2 separate regions of the Homo sapiens genome follow, and region 2 is linked to region 1. The links are contacts of gene promoters, found by promoter capture Hi-C in blood cells and fetal thymus (Javierre and others, 2016). All regions are on one chromosome and are shown on one strand. The core of a region is centred on a gene start or on the middle of the fragment in contact, and the rest is flanking DNA. Distances in the headings are between cores, read along the strand shown. Region 1 holds the start of RPS29 (ribosomal protein S29). Region 2 overlaps NIN (ninein).

Region 1 (4,361 bases), core at 1,046-3,545:
GTGCCTGTAATTTCAGCAACTCGGGAGGCTGAGGCAGGAGAATCCCTTGAACCCAGGAGGTGCAGGTTGCAGTTAGCCAAGATGGTGCCATTGCACTCCAGCCTGGGCGACAGAGTGAGACTCCGTCTCAAAAAAAAAGGAAAAAAAACAAAACAAAACATAAAAGCTCTTGATAAACACCGAGTTAAAATGAACTTTTAAAGCTGTGTTCTCAGTTTGTTGAAAAAGAAATGGATAATTTCATGGTTTGGGATAGATGGTGTCACATTATCTTAAAACTGAAAGGAAGTACGACGTCTTAGCTGCACTTTTGCAATATCTCTATCAAAGAGAATAATGTATAGACTAGAATAAGTATTAAGAATTACTTAAGTATTCAGATTAAGATTGTTGAAGTGCAACTAATTGCTTCTCATTTGTCTTTTTTTCTCTCCTAAATGAATTCACTTCTTTAGGCCCAAAGGCTTATATATCAGAGTACTAAAAATATTAATGGAATTGATCTCAGAACCACTGTAATGTTTTAAATATTGTGGAGACCAACTAGAAGAGGCCTAAGAAAGTGTGGACAAATGTTAGATTAGCTTTTGAGAGGCAAATGGCTTTTGGAAACCACACATTAGTGACTGATATAAATTATAGGAAAGTTGTAAAAGCTTGACATTGGATCTTGCCCAATGAGGCTTTAAAATAAAATACCTTTTCATTCCTATCACTAGGCCTTTTGTCCATCTTCTATTCTAGTTACACAAAGTTGTTCACCTTACCTTGGCTCAAGCGCTTCCTTTCACCAGGCATTCCCTTCTGTCAAGTGCTGCCTGTAGAAATCCCATTCTTCAAGGTCTACCTCAAAGGTCTCTCAAATGTACCTCGAACTGGAATTAATTTCTCTTCTTGGCTCCTTTCGTACTTCATGAGCACACCCATGATTTAATACAGAATATTTTCCTTAGCTGTACATATGTTGTTGGTGCACAAACGTTGTATGTTGAAGTCTTGGAGATAATCCTGTTTCCCACAGATTAGAAAATTTTGAGGGCAAGGAGCAAGTTATATCTAGTTTACAAATCTCTGACTCCCCTCCTTCCTTAATCATATAATACAATGCCTAACTTAATGATTGGGTAGGGGGACCCCACTAGAACCCTGACATAACATACCTTAAAGAAGTGTTGTATTTCAATTTATAAAAGTTTATATGTAAAAGTTTCTGGAATTGTTGCACCCTGTGCTACATTTTATAAATCTAGTTAAAGCTTTGATTTCAGAGCAGTTTTATCTGGAGGCATTATAAATGACCATATGGAATGTAGGTATCTTTCAGCAGAAATTCGTTTATTGACATTGGTTTTTTGCATTTTTGCATTTGCTTTTCATTACTTGTTTTGTCACCAAATTATCTGGTCAAAGCAACATACACTGCACATTACTTGTTTATTACTTTACATTCAGCCAATTACATTTAAGAATCAAATACACTAAATGCCAAAGAATCTCATTTTTTTTTGGAATGGTGTAGGTGTATTTCTTGGAGGAGTGTGTCAAAAAAATAAATTTGAAAACGTACTCTCTTTAACAAAATAAAAGCAAACCCTACCGTTGACTCGTGATCATTACAGCTGATTTTAAGTTGTTTTGTAAATTTATTCCAGTAGGTGTCACTGGTGAGTCGAGGAAAAACTCCTTTCCCAAGTGTAACGTTTTAATTAAAAGAAAGTAAAAGGTTTAATCAATAAAAAAGACTATGAGAATATTCATCTCTTGAGAGTCCAAAATTAACGTATTTATTGTTCAAAAGAGACGGGGTCTCGCTATGTTGCCCAGGCTGGAGTGCAGTGGCTATTCACAGGCGCGATCCCACTACTGATCAGCACGGGAGTTTTGACCTGCTCCGTTTCCGACCTGGGCCGGTTCACCCCTCCTTAGGCAACCTGGTGGTCCCCCGCTCCCGGGAGGTCACCATATTGATGCCGAACTTAGTGCGGACACCCGATCGGCATAGCGCACTACAGCCCAGAACTCCTGGACTCAAGCGATCCTCCAGCCTCAGCCTCCCGAGTAGCTGGGACTACAGGCACGCGCCACCGCGCCCGGCGGTCGGATACCGGCGCAGAATAGCACTAGAAGCTGTGGTATGGTGACGTCATCAACTGGGCCAGCCCACAACGCCTCTAAGATTTCATTTTACTCACCCAGCGAAACAACCTGACCACACTGCGCACGCGTTTCCTTTGAGCACTGCATTCTGGGTAAACTGTCTCAAAAATTTGAAGAGCGCATGCGTGGGCCAGCTTCTTCCTTTTACCTCGTTGCACTGCTGAGAGCAAGATGGGTCACCAGCAGCTGTACTGGAGCCACCCGCGAAAATTCGGCCAGGGTTCTCGCTCTTGGTGAGAAATAGTTTGTGATTTTGGGGAAGCGTTGCCGTGGAGCGCTAGGCTGCTTAAAATCTCAAGTAGAGGAGGCCACGGGCGGCACGAGGGAGCACGCCGACTGGGAGTCGCTGGTGCCGCCATTACAGGCCTGTACTGTGGCTTGGGAGTCCCGGGATGCGGGTAGTAGCCGTCTGAGTGCGGAGTCTTGTAATTTCTATGACCTGCAAAACCGCTGTCTCTTTTCTTACAGTCGTGTCTGTTCAAACCGGCACGGTCTGATCCGGAAATATGGCCTCAATATGTGCCGCCAGTGTTTCCGTCAGTACGCGAAGGATATCGGTTTCATTAAGGTAGGCGTCTGCAGGCGTACTCCATGTTGTTTGGGCAGAGAAGGTTGTGGGGGTTATTTTTTCCGCGAAAGACAAACGGACAGATCTTCCCTGGAGTGGTAATTCTGAGCATTCGACCAAGAGCTTTTCCTCTTTTTTTAGTTGGTAGCTGGTGACAGTGTTGATGGTTTGGGCAATCAAATTAATAGAATGGAGAAGGTGAAGGACTTAGTCTTTCCTACTCCCTTTTTTACCTAGATAGCTTAGCCAGTTTTAGGTGCCGTGTATTGTGTTTGGTGAAATTCACTTTAGAGAAGCCACTAAAATTGTTTTACATTTGTTTCATTTATCAATCTTGTAAGTACCTATTCTCTTTTTTTTTTTTTTAGAGATAGGGTCTCCCTCTGTCGCCCAGGTTGAAGTGCAGTGGCGTTGTTACGGCTCACTGCAGCCTCGAACTCCTCCTGGTCTCAGGCGATCCTCTTGCCTTGGCGTCCCGAGTAGCTGGGACTAAAGGCTCTTGCCACCACGCGCGGCTGTACCTAGATATTTTCTAACCAAATATATGTATTAACCGCTGACCCCAAGTTTTTTTTTTTTTTTTTTTGAGTCGGAGTCGCACTCACCCAACCTGGAGTGCGATGGCGTGATCTCCGCTCAGTGCAACCTCCGCCTCCCCGGTTCAAGCGATTCTCCTGCCTCAGCCTCCTGAATAGCTGGGATTACAGGCGCCTGCCACCATGTCCGGCTAATTTTTTTATTTTTAGTAGAGACGGGGTTTTACCATGTTGGTCAGGCTGGTCTCGAACTGCTGACCTCGTGATCCGCCTGCTTCGGCCTCCCAAAGTGCTGAGATTACAGGCGTGAGCCACCGCGCCCGGCCAACCCAAAATGTTTGAAAGCGTCATACACTGGAATGAACTTAAAGTTTGGGGCCGGAAAGACATTGTTAAGATTCAGCAAACAATGGTCTGCCATTTAGTGCTTCTATCTCTTGATCATCTTAGTCAAGCTAGTGTTTATATGAAACTTTTGACTGTGAAACTTTTGGCTTCTGAAAATCTTTTAAATAGTAGTTTGGGTTTTTTTTTTTAAGGTGAAAACGAATTTATTATTGGCTCTTTGAGATAAAAATCACCAGCTTTCTGATCAATTATTTTGTATTGGATAGTACTGTTCTATAATGATGTAAATTTTTTTTTTTGTTTTGAAATTGGGTCTCCCTCTGTTTCCCAGGCTGGAGTGCAGTGGCGTGATCTCAGCTCACTAGCCTCCCCCTCCCGGATTCAAGCGATTCTCCTGTCTCAGCCTCCCTAGTACCTGGGATTACAGGCGTCTGCCACCACGCCCGGCCTATTTTTATTATTTTGTGGAGATGGGATTTCACCATGTTGGCCAAGCTGGTCTTGAGGTCCTGACCTCAGGAGATGGGCCTGCCTTGACCCCTCAGAGTGCTGGGATTACAGGCGTGATCCACGGCGCCCTGTCTGTTGTAAATTGTTAATATGAATACTGCAGTGCAGCAGGGACAGAGAAAGTACGTTTAAACTCAGGCTTGGCAGCCCTGAGCAAATACTTCATCAGTATATGCTTCTTGTTAAAATGAGGAGGTTCGCCTAATTTGAGAGGTAGTATATCATACGTAAGAAAATGGACC
Region 2 (4,377 bases), core at 1,323-3,822, 1.2 Mb before region 1:
TAGAAGTTATATCTTAAATACTTTGCTAATTTAATAGGAACAAAATGACTTCTTGGTTTTAATCCTTCTTTGATTGCTGTTGAGATGAACCTTCCCCCATGTTTTTTTGTTTTTGGTTTTTTTTTTTTAATTATGTTGCTTCTTATGTGAATTGTCTGTGTTTCTTCCTTCTCTGCTGGGAAGACTTGGCATTTTTCTTACAAATGTATATCCATAACAGATACCTCCCCAGGTCTACCCAATTGAATGCTTTAAGTTTAAATATGGAAATTAAAATAAATTCCACATGTATCATGTAAACATATGTCCAATAAAAATAACAAAATTGTGTAGAGCTTACTATGTGCCAGGCACAATTCTAAGCACTTTACCATAACTCCATGAAATATGCACTACCTTGTTCCCATTTTATAGGCAGAGAACCTGAGGCAGAAGTCGTCAGAAGCTTGCCTAAGGCCAACCTGGTAGGGAAGCCATGATTCAGCACCAGGCACTCTGCCTCCTAAGTCTATGCAGTGGCCTCCATACTCGATCCTTTATTAGTTAGGAGTAAGAATCCAGGGAAGAAGGCAGCAGGGAAGTACTGTCCCAGAGAGTGAATCAGACATAGGCACCCAGTCTCATAGACTCATAAGATGTTGGAAACAGTATATTGGAGCATCTTGCTTCTTTGAATTCTGTGCTCACTATTTTCAAATGAACTGAGAAGTAAATGAGCCAGTGCTTTAGTAATGACGAGGATTTTTTGAAGGTGTGTGTGTTGCATTTTTACAGCTGTATATTCCAACTGGGACTCTCTTTATGGTTTGGGGCCAGTGATAACATATTCTCCTGCCATTTCTCCCATTCATTTCTGCTGTTAGAAATCATCCCCTGCTTGAGATTTGGTAGGTTTCTACCAATGGTTCTGAGACCATAAAACCCTATTTTATTTGTCATAGGTGGAATTAGTGGATTTAGTTCTGGGGTGTTTCCAACTGGTATGCTAAATAATGAATTTTCATAATTTTGGATGCCGAAGTAGTATGAGCATTTAAATTGTCTGCTCTGTTGAACAGGAAAATAAATGTGGAGGGACAGACAGGCAGGATGGTTTTGTTGATTTAAAATTTCTTATGTGAAAACAATTCTGACCAGAAATGAGAATGTAAGAAAATTTATGAAGGACTGTTGACTTTACCACTTGCTCCCCATCCCCACCATGCCTCAGACATCCACTAGATTGGAGAGACGTCTTTATGTAGAAATGTAGGCTGAGTGAGCTGATGAAATTGTTATCACAAGCAAAAATCACACGTCCTAATTCACTTTTCATTGATGCCATGTTTATTAGTGACTTTCCATTGTAATCTGCATGAATTGTAGTGAACTTAAACATTTTGAGTTATGGCCTTTTGGTGTCTTCCATTTGTCAGCAACAACCCATCTCAGCATTGTCAGCTTGGTATGGCCAAATTAAATGAACTCTCTGAATTGATACTATCTTAAATATCTAACATGGACCTGTGAAACTGTGGTAGGTGGTTGGCCCTCATTTAAGAGGTGAGAACTACCACTAGTGAGTGTGGAGAATAAAGTAGATGAGCGTAGGTTGCCTGAAAGAAGAACTTCAACTCGTATTAACTTGAATGAACTACTGAAAAACAACATTTCATCTAAAAATTTTACGTGCCATACCATCTGTCATGAGGAATCCAAGTTCTAGAGACAGGTATTAATTAGGCTGACTTTCCTGTCGAGTTTATTTTCGGATTCTAAGCAATCAACTAGTCTTGTACAGGTCAGCTACCCAGAAAACGTGCTGGTTATTTGTTATCAAAGGCAGCTTCATTCATAAAGCTGGATCACTGCTATGACAGCAGCCCCGTTTGGAAAGGGCGATTCACCTTTTCTAACAGGGTTTTCTTTGATGGTTGTAGTAACCCCCCATAACAGTGATTAGTTTTAGGCAGTTTGCTGGAGAGGCTAAAGCCATTTGCTGGAAGCCACAGCCACTGTGGACCTACTTGTTGCAACTGGTCAAAAGACGACCTGTACTATCCCCGGGCAGTGGAGCAAGGGCTGGATTTCGGTCCTGACCTGTGCTCTTAGCGGGGCACTTTTATGCAGTACACAAATTACAACTGTATGCTGTGACTTTGGAGAAGAGGCAGGAGTAATGAAGCCTGATAAGGTGGCAAAATGGTCCAATTCAGATAAATTGAACTGCCTTTAATGTAATTTACTGGTAATGTACATTTTATACTTTCTCTAGCCTACTTATTTTAAGTTGCATCTCTCTCCTCACTATGCCACAGATACACTAGGCTCATTCTTGCCTCCTTGCTTCAGCAGATAACAACTGCCCCCCTTCTTTTCTTTTCTTTTTTTTTTTTTGAGACGGAGTCTCGCTCTGTTGCCCAGGCTGGAGTGCAGTGGCGCGATCTCGGCTTACTGCAAGCTCCGCCTCCCGGGTTCACGCCATTCTCCTGCCTCAGCCTCCCGAGTAGCTGGGACTACAGGCACCCGCCACCTCGCCTGGCTAATTTTTTGTATTTTTGGTAGAGATGGGGTTTCATTGTGTTGGCCAGGATGGTCTCGATCTCCTGACCTCGTGATCCGCCCACCTCGGCCTCCCAAAGTGCTGGGATTACAGGCGCAAGCCACTGTGCCCAGCCTGCCCCCTTCTTTTCATTTGGCTCTCTGCAGTTTATCCTTCAGGTCTCAGTTTAGACATTGCTTCTTCCCGATCTAACAAGTCTAAAGTATCCCATCTGCATAGCAACATAGCATCCTGAACTTCCTTGTCATAGCACTTAAAATACTACCCTGTTGTATTTCCTGTTTTCTTGTCTGCATGTCTTCATTAGCATATAAACTTCTTGGGGCAGGAAATATGTTTGTCCTGTTCATGGTTGTTCATGGTTGTATTACCAAGACCTAGCACAGTACCTAGCACAAAGAGAAGCACTCAGTACACATTTATTGAAGAATAAATTCATAAATGCATGTGTACAGATACTTGTTGGTTGATGGATACTGGATATTTGCTTTGGCTGGGTTTAATTGGTTGTGATAGGTTTTGCTGTTGAATAAGTGACCTAGCAAATGAGGACAAATCCTTGGTGAAATGCTGCAGAAGGCTGTGTGGTGTTTCTTAGGAGTCTCGTCCTGATTGGCTGGTTAACTGAAGAGAACTCATCTAGATGGATACACTAGAGAGTCCTGAAATTATGTGACTCACTTAGATGATGATTTCAGAGCCAGAGAGTGATCTGCTCTAGGAAAAGCTAGGATAGTTCTTTCTGAATAAGTTCTAAAGCACACTAATCTTCTCTTGCCTTCTCTAGCACTGGAAGACGCAACGCAGTGAGGAGTATGAAGCGGAAGGTAAGAGCCGAGTGTGTCAGGACGTGCCTGGAAGGGAAGGGCCGCCGGGTGCTCTCCACACCCGGTCTTTCTGATCTCTTATGCTGCAGGCCAGGGGAATTAACATTAAGAACAACAGCAACAAAAAATTTATTCCCAATTGATAGCTTTTAGTTTTAAAATCCTAGCATTTAGTATCATGCAAGAGATGGTAACTAAGATATATAATTTTACTTACGGGCTAATTTCTCTCTTATACAGACTTTCAGATTAATTTTCTAACAGTCTTAAATAGTGACCTATTAAAGTGCATCCCTTGGCCAGGTACAGTGGCTCACGCCTGTAATCCCAGCACTTTGGGAGGCCAAGGCAGGAGGATTACTGGAACGCAGTAGTTCATGACCAGCCTGGGCAACATGGCATACCCCGTCTCTACTAAAAATAGCCAGGTGTGGTAGCACATGCCTGTCGTCCCAGCTACTCAGAAGGCTGAGGTGGGAGAATCCATTAAGCCCGAGAGTTGGAGGCTGTAGTGAGCCGTGATTGTGCCACTGCACTCCTGCTTGGATAACAGAAGAGACTCTGTCTCAAAAAATAAAAATAACAATATAAATTAATTAATTAATTTAAAAATGCATCCCTTGACAAGTTTCAAATGTATTTAAGAAGCATCAGAACACGTTGATCCTCTGGCCACCAGATGGCACTGTGGTTCAGCTAACAGAACCTCAGCCCACTTCACAGCCCTCTGTGGATTAACTGTACTTAAGTGTAATTACAACCTGTTCTCTAGGTTGAAACGCCACAGCAGTAATGGGCTTAATTCCTGTCACTAAAGAGTGGGAGTAGCACTAAATACTGCTTTCAACCCTCTGAGGTTCTTCCAAGCACACAAAATTGTGCCAGTAATTATCTCATGTTTAAGTAATGACTTTACAGAATCTCTAATGTGTAAAGCAAAATTTAGAAGTGAGGGCTTTTAATAGAGAATAAATAAGAAGTTTTGATTTTTAAATAAGTAGTTTGATC

The links. Contacts are between HindIII fragments. The CHiCAGO score rates a contact against its expected background, and 5 or more counts as called.
Region 2: a contact is called between a fragment that was not itself captured here and the fragment with the promoter of RPS29 in region 1, in 1 of 17 cell types (fetal thymus). The highest score is 5.6, in fetal thymus.

What each region holds. Positions count from the first base shown.
Region 1 is chr14:49,584,314-49,588,674 of GRCh38, reverse strand. It overlaps RPS29 (ribosomal protein S29), which reads left to right and starts at 2,295. Exons shown (of 3, transcript NM_001032.5): 1 at 2,295-2,390; 2 at 2,626-2,725. The coding sequence starts at 2,329. It also overlaps RN7SL1. RefSeq lists enhancers at 1,735-2,244, 2,117-2,616, 3,215-3,264, 4,291-4,361. The HindIII fragment of the contact is 6,928 bases long and covers 1,259-4,361 here.
Region 2 is chr14:50,777,757-50,782,133 of GRCh38, reverse strand. It overlaps NIN (ninein), which reads left to right. Exons shown (of 31, transcript NM_020921.4): 6 at 3,330-3,369. Among named protein-coding and RNA genes, the nearest start is that of NIN, 51 kb to the left of the region's middle. The HindIII fragment of the contact is 4,250 bases long and covers 448-4,377 here.